Linked DNA regions of Homo sapiens: region 2 is linked to region 1. Evidence: promoter capture Hi-C in human tissues and cell types (Jung and others, 2019). All regions are on one chromosome and are shown on one strand. The core of a region is centred on a gene start or on the middle of the fragment in contact, and the rest is flanking DNA. Distances in the headings are between cores, read along the strand shown. Region 1 holds the start of PTBP3 (polypyrimidine tract binding protein 3). Region 2 overlaps HSDL2 (hydroxysteroid dehydrogenase like 2).

Region 1 (3,759 bases), core at 557-3,056:
AAAGTAAGTTTGCACTTCACAGTTATCCTACAGTTTAACAGCAAAGACGCAAAATTCAAGAGTCCTCTTTATTATAACTATACATTTTACGACACAAAAAAATAGCCTGCTTCCATTATTTAAGTCAAACCTTCCAGACAATTAACTACACATAATGAAATGCTAAATTCACAGCCTGCCTGAACCAAAATATTAGTGACACAAATCTTTACGACCACAAAATTTTTCAACATATAAAATGCAACTGAATAAGGTAATGTGAAATAAGTTTTCAACAATGTTCTCGAAGAAACTTCAATCAAACAATAAAAACAGCTTCAATTCCCCCCCAAAATATATACACCTACTGTGTACCCAAAAAAGTTATAATTTTAAGAAATTTTTTGAAGCTTCAATCAAATAAAAATAAAGAACATCACAATCATGAATAAAATCTAAAACTCCACTTTGATGTCTGTAGCAGTGTGCAATCTGCATTCAAATGAATCAATCCGAAATGTCATATACACTTAATATTGTGAAACTAAAATAAATGAAATCTAATGAGGTCAAAAGCTGTTGGAAGATTTCATCTTCAAATAGCATATCATCAACTGTATGGCAACATGTGAACGACTTTTACTGTTCTAGCAAGTTGCATATATTCCACAACCTCACAGAAATCTTGTCATCAAAAGTAGGTAACAAGCTAAAAAAAACCTCAAATACATAATGGGAATAAACCGAGTTGGAGATTTTTTTTTAATCCGTAGGTACAGATACTACAACCTTCAATTAATTCACCAAAATCCTAACATAGTTGTTACTTTAATTACCAAAATATGTCAAGTCCCACCCCATATCCCTGAGTCCCCAGAGAACAGTTTATATACATAGACTCTAAATCTTTTTATTTTGGTCACGGACCCCCATTAAATTTTTGAGCATTTGAAATGCCCCCGAAAATCGCTCGTACATCATATTTTACATACACGGGCAGATAATTCATTAAGTTTCTTGGGGAGAGAGAAAGGTGAGGGGGAAGCGTCCATGGTCACTAAGTCCAGACCCCTGGTGTCGAGAAAGCGTTAACGTATCTCACAGCACAAGTCGGGAGACCTCGGCCAAGTCCCGCGGCGGCCCTGGGACCCCGCGTGGGACCATGGCTTGCGACCAGGTCGCCGCCCAGACGTGTACCGACGCGTGCACCCGCCGTCGGCCGCTCGCCCCACCTCGCCGGTAAACAGCAACTCCCCCGGCAGGAGGACGCCCGCCCCGCGCGCCGCCTCCGCCTCCCCCAGCGCCGCGCACCATTTTCTGAGAGGAAGTGTCGGGAGGCCGAGCTGGGCTCCCCGGACTCGGGGCGCGGAGGGCGGACCTCGGCACCGCGGCCGGACCGGGCTTTCCTCTGCTCCCGGGTGTGTCGAGTAAGGCTAGGAAGCAGCGGACGTGTCCGGGGCGCCGCGTGGGGAAAGGAGAGCCTGCGGCGGACGGCAACTCCGCGATTCCGGGATCCCCACCGAGACGCCCGGAAGCCCCGCCGTCGGGCTTGGCCGGGGCCGCTCCTCCGGCCGCCGGCGCCGCGCACTGCTCCCCAGCCCTTACGCGTCCCGCGGAGAGCCGGGTGGAAGCGGCGCCAAGGCAACCCGGTGCGGCCGCCGCGCCGCCTAGTACTTACCCATCCATGGCCCAGATGGAGGCGCGCACAGAGCAGGGACTGACGGGCTAACCGCGAGCAGAGGAAGCAGGCGGCGGCAGCAGGGCGGTTCCGGGGACAAGCGAGCTTTGGCTCTGCGGAGCCCCGGCCGGTCCGAGGTGGAAGGAGAGTGGGAACAGGGGCGGGGACCGGGCACGCTCCCGCCACCGCCGCGCCCCCGCCTTCCCCACCCCGCGAGCGCGTCCCCGCCTAGCCCGACCCCGCCCCCTCACCGTCCCCGCCCTCCCTCGGGGCCCGCCCCTGCGCTCGCGCCCACCCTCGCCCCGCTGGCAGCCGGCCTCCGGCTCAGCTCTGGGGCGCCCTCTTCCCGCGGTCGCTGTAAGACCCCGCCTCTCGGCCCCTCGGCCCGGCGCGCGCGCGCGCCCCCAGCCTCCCTCCTGCGTTCGCGGGAGCGCGCGCCTTGTGCTTCCCGCTCCGCCGCGCACCCCGCCCGCCCTCCCGCGGCCCCGCGGGCCTTCCGGCTTCGCAGACCGGGCCTGCCAGGTTTGAATGCCTCCCTCTGCCGGCAGGAAAAGCTATGGGGACCTGACTCCCAAGAGTAGGAAGGAATGTCCCACAAGGACCCCAGAAACGAGGTGGAATTGCCCCGGGTGCGCGAGGCTGTAGATGACACGTCCAGGGACCAGCCTCTGGCAGCCCGGCGCTGGAGTCGACCGCTGGGACCGACACCAGCCCCATAGGTGTGGCTGGGACGATGAATGAGGTGAAAGAGGCTGCCCGGACTGGAATTTGTATACAATTTAAGTATCTGAGTGCATTTCGACCTAACCGTCTAGTATTGAATTTATATGAAAAATTCATTGTACAAACATGGAATGGCTATATTCCCAGCATTTTTTAAAAGTTTACTCATTATTCCCTTTTTTCAGATGAAAATACATATACAAAGAGAGTGATTTGCTCACAGTTTCACAACCAGGAAACGTTTGCACCAGAGCCCTTCCCTCTGGTCTGAGCAAAAAGTATATATATAATATAACGAGTGACAACACGCTTGCTTTTTTCCCTTTTTAGTGAGAAATTGAGTACTTTTTCAACTCACAGATCACCAAAATGTAACCCCCTAAACTGTTAAGCCAAATTCTTAACCTACTGAGTAAAAAAGAGCGGGGCTCCTCCCCGTGGCTTCGTCATTTGAAAAGCAACTAACAAGAACCTCAAACATCTATCCTTGCTAATTTCCTGCTTTCAGATCAGTAGGTGCTGCTAAAAAGATCTAAACTGTGGACTCATTCATCATTCAGTCAGTATTAACCTACTATGTGCCGGGCACTGCATGAATACACAAGAAAATCAGGTTCCAGCCGTCACTGTTGAATGGATTCTTCAGTCCGTTTATGTATATTTTTGACATACAACTTTTCAAATAGGTAGAGTAATTCGGTGAGGTAATTCTTAAAGTCCTGTATCTAACCTCAGTCCCCTTCCAAAATGTCAAATACATTTTGTTTTGTATATTAAATCTAAATATTAAGTTGCATTTGTAAACATTGCCAGATGGAAATGTAGAATATCAACAAGATAAGTAGCTGATGCAGTCTTTCTATCACTGTATTTGGGATATATTCTGTTGATGAAATTTCCTTAACCCTTTTTTTAGCTACACAAGTAATATCAGCATAAATGCTCATTTTGGAAAATTCAAGCACTATAAAATATTGAAAAGTTATCATTAATATTTTTCTTCCCAAACCACCCCCTGCCCATGACTACCACTGTAACAATTCTGCGTGCATCCTTCTGGACCTTACTTTTTTTTGTTGTTTGTTTTTTTGTTTTTTTGTTTTTTTGTTTTGAGACGGAGTCTTGCTCTGTCTCCCAGGCTGGAGTGCAGTGGCACAATCTGAGCTCACTGCAACCTCTGCCTCCCGAGTTCAAGTGATTCTCCTGCCTCAGCCTCCTGAGTAGCTGCGATTACAGGCGCCCGCCACCACGCCTGGCTAGTTTTTGTGTTTTTAGTAGAGACAGGGTTTCACCATGTTGGTCAGGCTGGTCTCGAACTCCTGACCTTGTGATCCACCCACCTCAGCCTCCCAAAGTGCTGGGATTACAGGTGTGAGCCA
Region 2 (3,759 bases), core at 872-3,371, 140 kb after region 1:
TTTGATAGTTCTCTCAGTTTTCTCTCTTCTGACTTTCTGGAGAAAAAGATCATCTGATTTAATCACTCATTTCTCCTATTACACATATATTTGTATAATTCTTTTCACCTTCTAGGAGATCGACTCACCTTCTTTTTCCTACCTTTCTATTGCATTTTAATTTTGTTGACTAAAATTTTACTTTCTAAGAGCTCATCTTGTTTTCTGATGGTTTTTCTTCCTCCTCCTCAATCCAACCCATCCCCTCTCCTTCCCTGGCATCACTGCCTTTCCCCCTTTCCCTTTTTCTCCTCTCTCCCTCTCCTTCATCCCCTCTTCTTCTCCTCTCTCCTTCCTGTGCTCCTCCTCTTCCCTCTTTCTCCACCTGCATCCTGTTCCCCATCCCTTGCTGTATTATTTTCTTTTATCTCTGAGGGCAGAGATTGTGGAATTTTTAATTTGTTCTCCATTTACTCTACTTTAGTTATCTTTTGTCTGAGCCAGCATTCTGTTTCCTCCAAGTTGCTCTTATCTGTGTTTTGGTTTTGGTTATATTTGATGTCCATTCATCTCTATGGGCAAGGCTCTGCAAAGCTCATTGGAAGATGTGTGTGAGTGGGGTGGGTGGAATGGTAGGCTTCACTGTAGAATAACAGAGCATGATCCAGTTGATTTAGCTGAAGGACACCCAGATGTCTGTATCTGTGTTTTTGGACGGGCTGTTCTGTTCCTTCCAGAATAAAGATCTTTCAGTATCCTCCATGTAAATAAAAGTTACCCCTTCATTTATTATTTGTAAGTATTGGGATTTTAACATCACACTGTCTTAAAGTAGGACACAGCTCAGTTTATTCATTAAAATAAAAGAGTTGGACTTGATCCTTTCTACCTATAATAACTCCATGAGGCTTTGCTATAACCTCTATTTAGAATAATTTAAAGGCATTTAATAGCTTAATATAATATATATATAATATATTAACTCACACACTTTCTCTGCAAAGAACCTGTGTGGGGCACAGGGGTGGGGAGGGTGGCTACTAAGCTACTAATAAACCAAACACATATTGTGCCTTCTAGAAGATATGTCATCTATATCAATTAGCATAATGTAAGACAGAAAATCATAAATGAGGCTGGGCCAGATGGCTCACATCTGTAATCTCAGCACTCTGGGAGGCAGGTGGATCACTTGAGACCAGCCTGGGCAACATGGCAAAACCCCATCTCTATAAAAAATTAGCCCTGCATGGTGTTGCTTGCCTGTAGTCCAGCTACTCAGGAGGCTGAGGTGGGAGGTTCAGATGAGCCTGGGAAGTCAAGGCTGCAGTAAGCCATGTACTCCACTGTACATGTACTCCAGCCTGGGAGACAGAGTGAGACCTTGTCTCAAAAAAAAAAAAAAAAAAAAAAAGGAAAAAAAGTCATAAATGAAAGGCAGACATACCTGGCTTTAAATTGCAGCACTGCCTCATACAAGCTGTGTGACCTTGAGCAAGCCAAAATCCTTTTTGAGTCTGTTTCCTCATTAATTCCACTATGTGATAGACCCCGTACTGACACTGGAATAAGAGTAGCAGATAACAAATGTACTTCTCTCCATGGAGCTCATATTTATTACATGTTGTTATTAGGTACAATTCTATTTTAATGCTTACATTTTTTTATACCCTGGCATTTCTGTGGTTAAAGTAATGCTAACACATATTTTGTGTCCATACACTATACTTTTAATGATCATTTCTTAAGACTATTTTGTTCATTTACACCATTTGGTTTTTTGAACTTGAAATGTCAAAAGTTTAATGAACTATCGTAAGTTGGAAAATTAACTAAAATAGACAGTATTTGTTTACCAGAATTCATTTGAGGGCCGTGTATCCTTTAGTGTATAAAAATCTTTTTGGTGTAAAAACATTTGCTATAATCTTTTGCTGATTGTTGTTTTTATGCTAGCTCTTAATAGGATATTGTTAACATCTAAGTCTAGGAATTGGGATTCCCAAGATACTGATATAAAATGCTGTAACAGAAATTTCTATGCTTCTGAGGTTTATAGAACTCAAGGAGATTCTTTTTACAATGCGTGTTCTTAAAGCAATATATCCCTAAGGGCACTAATGGTTGCTTTTCCCTCTCTCATTTTCTCATTTTAGGGAAACTAAAACCAACAATGGCATTCATGTCAGGGAAATTGAAGATTAAAGGTAACATGGCCCTAGCAATCAAATTGGAGAAGCTAATGAATCAGATGAATGCCAGACTGTGAAGGAAAATATAAAAAAAAAGTCGACTGCTATGCTCAAAAAGTAAAAAAAGCTCAACAGTTAAAATCTAATGTTTGTTTTCTTTCCTGTTATATTATAAGGATATGCACGTTTGTTCTGGAAAAGATAGAATTTGTCTCTAAAAGACTTGAAATTGTAATTAAAATGGCAAGCTAATCAAACATAAGCTTCATTAAGTGGGATTCTAAGACAGTCTGTGTTTTTATATTTCAAGGGTTTAACCCTTTGAGCCTTACATCTCATTCACTGTCTTTCTCCAAGAAAAGTATTTTGGGCGGACAGTCAGATCAAGCAGTAAAATTAGCTCTTTCAAATCTTCTTGTCATGTAAAATGAAGCTAGTCTGTTTTAAAATTTTTAGTTTTGGATTGTATACTAATGAAAATCTTAATGATGTTTTTGATTTTTATATACTTATTTTAAAGAAAATCTTATATAGTACATTTTACAAAAATTATAAAAAATGAATTAGTACTGGCGAGGACTAAATGAAACAATAATTTTTCATTTTGATAACTAGCTTTCCAGGTGGACTTAGCCATAGGAAAATATTACTAATGTAATTTAACAAATTGCTGCATGTATTCCATTTAAAAATATGTTTAAATTGTCCTAAAACAAAATAATTTTCTCCCTAGGAGTATGCATTTGGCTACAGTGTTTTGAAACAGAAACCTTAGAATAGGTCATTGGTATGGGCTGAACTGTGTATCCCCCAATTCATTTGTTGAGGTCCTAACTCCCATTTCTTTTGAATGTGACTGTTCGGAGATGAGGCCTTTAAAGAGGTGACTTAAGTTCAAAGGAGGCTGTTAGTCTAATCCAACATGGTGTCCTTTGGACATAAGAGATACCAGCAATGTGTGCACAGAACAAAGACCAGGAGAGGACACAGTGAGAAGGCAGTTATCTGCAAGCAAAGAGAGAGGCTTCAGAAGAAACAAAATCACCAGCACCTTGATCTTTGACTTCTAATCTCCAGAATAGTGAGAAATAAATTTCTGTTGTTAAGCCGTCCACTGTGGGAGGCCGACGCAGGAGGATTGCTTGAGGCCAGGAGTTCAAGGCCAGCCTGGACAACATAGTAAGACCCTATCTCTACCCCCCTAATAAATTAATTTAAAAAGCCCCCCAATCTGTGGTATTTTATTATGGCAGCCCTAGCAAGCTAATACAGTGGTTTGAGAGGCTGGGAGGGTTGAGGGGAAGATAAACTTTTAAAAAGCTCTTATCTTTCATTTCAATCAGTTAAAAATACTTGCTCAGTGTAACAATTTTGCTTCTCAGCTTCCACTCTAATATTGTTGTGCCATTAAGCAATTTAGCTAATCCTGACATTTCTTAGATTCATAATGTTAGGAGCATTTAATCTGTATTTTACAAGTTAGGAAGCAGAGGATCAGAGATGGGAAAGGACTAGCCCAAGGCCAACATTAACAAGCCCTCTAACAAAAACTTTACAATACATTTATGTTGAATGGAACTCCAAGATC

Evidence for each region. Contacts are between HindIII fragments. The study calls those that stand out against the background at their distance.
Region 2: a contact is called between a fragment that was not itself captured here and the fragment with the promoter of PTBP3 in region 1, in 1 of the 25 tissues and cell types used here (IMR-90 fibroblasts).

The regions. Positions count from the first base shown.
Region 1 is chr9:112,331,813-112,335,571 of GRCh38, forward strand. PTBP3 (polypyrimidine tract binding protein 3) reads right to left here and starts at 1,807. Exons shown (of 14, transcript NM_001163788.4): 1 at 1,658-1,807. RefSeq lists silencers at 1,172-1,661, 1,812-2,131 and an enhancer at 1,881-2,851. The HindIII fragment of the contact is 19,118 bases long and covers 1-3,759 here.
Region 2 is chr9:112,468,297-112,472,055 of GRCh38, forward strand. It overlaps HSDL2 (hydroxysteroid dehydrogenase like 2), which reads left to right. Exons shown (of 11, transcript NM_032303.5): 11 at 2,136-3,759. The coding sequence ends at 2,248. HSDL2-AS1 (HSDL2 antisense RNA 1) reads right to left here. Exons shown (of 5, transcript NR_171779.1): 3 at 1,427-1,541. Among named protein-coding and RNA genes, the nearest start is that of KIAA1958, 17 kb to the right of the region's middle. The HindIII fragment of the contact is 3,336 bases long and covers 454-3,759 here.